Linked DNA regions of Homo sapiens: region 2 is linked to region 1. The links are contacts of gene promoters, found by promoter capture Hi-C in blood cells and fetal thymus (Javierre and others, 2016). All regions are on one chromosome and are shown on one strand. The core of a region is centred on a gene start or on the middle of the fragment in contact, and the rest is flanking DNA. Distances in the headings are between cores, read along the strand shown.

Evidence for each region. The method cuts DNA at HindIII sites, captures the fragments that hold promoters and counts their contacts. A CHiCAGO score of 5 or more calls a contact.
Region 2: a contact is called between a fragment that was not itself captured here and the fragment with the promoter of SELENOK in region 1, in 1 of 17 cell types (M2 macrophages). The highest score is 7.3, in M2 macrophages.

The regions. Positions count from the first base shown.
Region 1 is chr3:53,890,436-53,893,193 of GRCh38, forward strand. SELENOK (selenoprotein K) reads right to left here and starts at 1,424. Exons shown (of 5, transcript NM_021237.5): 1 at 1,335-1,424. The coding sequence starts at 1,353. RefSeq lists enhancers at 612-1,512, 1,403-1,702. The HindIII fragment of the contact is 7,183 bases long and covers 724-2,758 here.
Region 2 is chr3:53,698,060-53,700,817 of GRCh38, forward strand. All of the region lies in intron 8 of CACNA1D (calcium voltage-gated channel subunit alpha1 D), which reads left to right. Among named protein-coding and RNA genes, the nearest start is that of CHDH, 150 kb to the right of the region's middle. The HindIII fragment of the contact is 1,044 bases long and covers 912-1,955 here.

The DNA.
Region 1 (2,758 bases), core at 174-2,673:
CCTTCCACCAATATCCCCAGAGAGAAGTAAGGTGTTTGAATGCAGTTGTGTTTCTCAACTTTTAAAGTACGATAAAGAGTCCTAATCGGCTACTTATGTGGACCAAATGAAATAATGCGAACACAGTAAGACACAACAAATACAAGGAATTATTCAATAATTCATACAGAAGCTTCCAGCCTTAAGCTTATATCACAAAGGCTATAAAACAGGCTATAAAACAGACTAAAGTCTGAAAGCGCCCAAAACTAAGATGAAATTTTGATGCTTTTCTGTAGTGTCCATCAATCTACTTGTTTCAAAGATTTTTAAGTGGGAGATGAGAAGGGGAGATTTTTAAAAGTCAAGAAATGCAAAAGTGCAGTCAGCCAGAAGGCTCCTCACTGACTACCTTACTCGTCTCTGGAGAAAAACAGATGACTCAAATAGAACCAAGACCTAGTTCCAATGATCCACAACTCCTTGTTAAGACTGTACCAAAGAATTTCACCTGAGTCAAACAGGTGGGCAGGCAGCTCTAGCACTGATCTGACACAGTCATGTCCTTCCTTTCCGGTCATCTTCTTTGTGGGTTCGCAGAATTAAGTCTCTCGGATTCTCCATTCCGGTAATAATTAACTTGCTCCTAGGGGAAGATAGTACTTCTTCCCATGCCCCTTGAAATTCGAGCAAAAAATTCCATGTTTGACTAGCTACCCTTTCCTGGGGAAAAAGCCTATGCAAAGCTTTCATCTAATTATCATCCTAGGTCGGCTCGGTCTTTTTACACGTTGTAGACAGAGGCAGCATAACAGATAACAAGGACGCTGACGTCAGCCTACCTGTGATCGAATCCCGACTCAGCCATTAAGTTACCTCTGTGACTTAAATAGCCCAGGCAAGCTATTTAATCTATCTGAGCCTCAGAGTTTCCACCCGTAAAACAGGATTGAATGTGACGATAAGCAAATAACTGAAACACTGTCCAGGGCACAAGCGCTACGTGTACAGCGTCGGCATCATTGTCCTTACTAGTTTTAAGGATACCGACACCCGAGAGAGGAAAGACCACCCTCGCAAATCCACAATCAAGCGCTTGCTGCACGAAGGCGGGGTTGCAGGGCTCCCAGTACTCAACGTGAGGCCGGCGGGACCTCGGCCCCCGACTGCCGGCTCAGAGACCATCGGCTGACGCGCCGCAAGCCGAGGCGACTTCGGTCCAGCTCCGCCCGGCCGCGGGGCGCTAAGCCCGGGGAAGCCGCACCGGGCTCAAGACTCAGCGAGCGACGATGAAAGGAACCTGGAGTCCGATCTTACAAGTCACCGGTCGAAGCCACAGCCCGCTCTCAACTTACCGTTCGAGATGTAAACCATCTTGTCCCACTTCCCCGCTTCGGAGCCACCGGGCGCCTGGCCCCTGTCGGTTTCTGTATCTCCCTCTGCTCCCCGCCCTTCGAGCGTCACAGGCCGCGATTAGACAAAATGCTGACGAGGACGAAGGTGGGCAGAGCCCATTGGCTGCTGAAAGAGACGCGCCCCCGACGGGCGTTTTTGCATCGTCACATCTGCGACTTCTGGTTAGGCGGAGGCGGCCGAGCTGACAACCGGATATGACGTTAAGGACTGCCCTGTAGTGCCCGCGGTTGCCAGTCCTCTATCCGACTTGATCGTGCAGAGTTGGTTCGCACCGCCCAGTGAGGGGAAGCTGTTTTCTCGTCGATTGATAGGCTCCGGGTCTGGGTAGGAGAGGCTGCCCTGTATGAGGTAGCTTGAAGGGCCGCTGACAGGAGGAAACGCTTCCGAATTTTCCAGACGTGTTGACGTTTGAGGGTGCTGACTACACGTTAAGGAACTTTATTGTCACGCCTTTGGGAATATACTGCCAGGCTCTTCCTAGATATATTCATTCTCTTTAAAATGAGCATGTCTACCTGGGTTCACCAGAAACTAAGTTTTTCTTAGCCTTTTGTGAGGCAACTGAAAAATAAATTGAACTGTAGGCCCTTTCTCTGCTTGTTTCTTATTGATGGCGACTGCTTATGACCACTTTGGTGACAGACGAATTAGAAGACATGTCTTGGACATTCAGTAAATGTGGACCACATACCATGGATATTTACTCTGCTACAGCCAGTGGGCTGCCTCTGTTCCTTGAACGTGGCCATTTCATTCCCTTCTCAAGGCCTCTGCACTTAGCTATTCTTTCAGCGTGGAGACCTAATGGCTGCTTCCTTTGACTTCCCGCCCCCAGTTCTCAAGCCATGTGTCATCTCTTTGGAAAGATTCCTAATCACCTTCCAGAAAATGAAAATTACATGCTGAAAATCTATTTTGAGTTTAACAACTTTGGTTAAGATTTTATGTTCTAATACTTAGAACTGACAAAGATCTAATTTTATGTTGATTTTGGAGAGAGCATTTTCCCCAGAAAAGTTCATAATAGGACAAGACAACATCCTTCACCTCATTTGGGATTTGTGCAGCACAATCATAAAGGATCATTTCTGCAAAAATATTAGGGCAGGGCCGTTAATTTTCCCAAGGGCCTTTCTTAATCTAGACCATGCCACCATCATCTCTCACCTGCTCTACGCTAGTTTCCTTCTAAATGAAATCTCAGGTTCAGTCTTTTACCATCCTTAGGCAGTTTTACAAACTGTAGCAAGATCGATCTTAAAACGGAGATCATCTCGTTCCCTTGCCTAAAACCTTTTGGACACTAAAATTTAGTGACTTCCTATTGCTCTTAAAATCCAGTTCCTTGTCATGGCCTGCAGGC
Region 2 (2,758 bases), core at 184-2,683, 190 kb before region 1:
ATTTCCGTACACATATTCATACACATACTTACATTGATACATACACATACTCACATATCAGCCTCTTTTAAAAATCAGACATTGGAAATCAGACTTTAAAATAAACATCTTTTAGAAATCATCAGTTCACACCTATACCTTCAATTCCAGCCTGTCCCCAGAGGGTTCTTCTCTGTTCCGTGTTTCTGTGTCCCTCCTTCCACAGCGAGAACTCTGGCTCCCAGCAGCATTAGCACATGTACTCACTGGCTAAATCCTGTAATATGTCTAAGATAGTTTCAGAATGGTCTCATCCACATCACTGCAAAAAACAAAGCTACTGAAAAGAGTTCAGCATTTGTTTGTAGTTCATCCCTCACTCCAATCCTACCCAAGACTGAGAGTATGTCGTCAAATATTCATGAGCTATTTGAATTAGTTTTGTCTTTCTCCTTCAGTCTGGTTATGGTATTCATTTGAATTACAGATTTGTTTGTTTCAAATCACTTTCAGTTTAGGGGTATTTTCCCTTCATCTCATCCTTACTGACTTAATTTTTAAAAATTTAAGGTGAAGAACATTAACATGGTTCCCAAAGTCAAAACTATAGAAAAAGGTATACTTAAGAGTGTCACTCCAACCTTGATTCCTTTGGCCTAATTCATTCCCATCCCTTGTTTTCTGCTCTTTCTTTTAGATACACCTGAGAGAAATATGCTCCTTTTATTTCCCAGTTTTTCGTGTGTAAAGGGTAGCACACTTTATTGCTTTTTTTTTTTTTTTCATCCAGGCACTTCTTATTTATCTTTTGATCAGACACACCATAACCAAAATTCTGGTTTGGAACAAGAAGACTCCTAGCATATAACAGTTGTTGGATTTTTAGTCACTTGCAAAAGTCTGTTGGTTTCTACCAATAGCTTTATTAAATAAGCTTTGTAAAACAATCTCTTAGTAATAGGATTCTTAGAATATGATGAATTCTTATGCAAAGTGGAGTAACTTTTTTCCCATCATTGCAAAGTTTGATAGAAGGTGCCTCGGACTTGAGGTGTGATTTTCAGGATCAGAGGGTCAGTTGTGATGGGAATGGGTTATTCTCAACTGAGCAGATAGTGTACAGGATTGGCAGTGGGTTTGCCAGCTCATTGCGATCACTCTGAGCCTTGGGACCCATGTGTCCTTCTATGTGTCTCCCAATCCTAACGGGTTTGTGGCAGCTTAGAGCCCATTCACAGCTAGTGCTAATTTTTCTCCCTTTGATAATTTGAGAAAGCTCTTCCATTTGCCTTTTGAATGTCTCTCTTATGTCTGGATTCAACAACTATTATACATTTGAACTTCACGTTGATACCACTCTTTGTGTTTTCAAAGCCTTACTGAATGTCTTGCTTAATTCCTGTGAAACAGCGGAACAGGTATTGTTGTGTCTGTTTGGAAGTGAGGAAACTGAAGCTCAGAACACAGCAGTGACAGAGCTAGGACTAGAAGCCAGGTCTTCAGACGAAGAGCCCAGAGTGGTGTAGGAGGGCCAAGGATTTATCTGGGTTTATCACAGGGACTCTACCTCCCTGCCCCCTTCCTCCATCCTGCCCTGTGGCCAACAGATTTCTACTGTATAAACCTCACCTCTGTCCACATCAATAAATAATACCTTCCTGCTAAATATTCAGCCATTCAGAACTGTCTAAAATCAGTTCAGAGGGTCTATATCAGCAGCTTTGTTATATGAGCTTTTGTGATAGTGACCATCATTGTGAGTGGGCCATAAACCAGGACTTGGCAGGGTTTTTTACTCCTAGGAATTTTAGTCAGAGTAGAGTTTTACTTATGCCTGCTTACCTGTGTCCCAGCAGTGGAAAATGTACAACAGTGATGCAGCTTGTTAGAAATGGGATTTTTATATTTGTAATGTTAAAAAGGCATAAAATATTACAAAAGAAAATTAGGAAGATAGTAAAAGAGTTACCCTGAGAAGCTTAAGGACGTTCATTTTATAATGTATGTAATTATACATTATAAAATGTATATAATTATATAATTTAAAAATAAAATATAATTATATAATTATAATACATTATAAAATGTATATAATGTATGTAATTATGCATTATAAAATGAATGTCCTTAAGCTTCTCAGGGTAACTCTTTTACTATCTTCATAATTTTTTTCCCAAGAACCCATATATGATATGGACCCAAAGTAAGAATACCTTGTTTGTATGTAACCATCTGAATTTAGTATTCTAAGTTCGGAATCAAAACATGCAAACAGATTTGTACTAGGATACTTTTCTGGTGAATAATAGAACTGAAGGTCCACTTTTCTTTGAGATGTATTTAAGAAAACAGATTATATAATTCATTTTCCTGCAGATACATGACATGCCAAGCCCTCTTACTGTTGCTCAGGGATGTGATTCTGGATTGAGTTGTGATTTTTTCAGAGTTCAGAGAATCATTTGGTGAATTTACCTAGAGCTGAGTTATGTATTTCCCATGTGTCAGGAAACCCCGGAGGCCTAGAAACCCCAAACCATTCTCAGGGTGTGGTACATGTGAATGGCGAGACACTGGAGTCCTTACTTCTTTGAGACAGCAGGTGTTCTTTGGGCTGGGAGGTCAGAGCACGTGTCTGGGCTCAGATCGGCTCCTGCTCACTCTCTAGATCCACAAAGCCTGGCCTCCTTCCTTATTCACAGGGGGTGGAGTGGAGACTGACAGCCCTAACAGGACCAAGGATAGGTTCCAGGGAGTCTGGAAAGTGGGGTGATTTAGA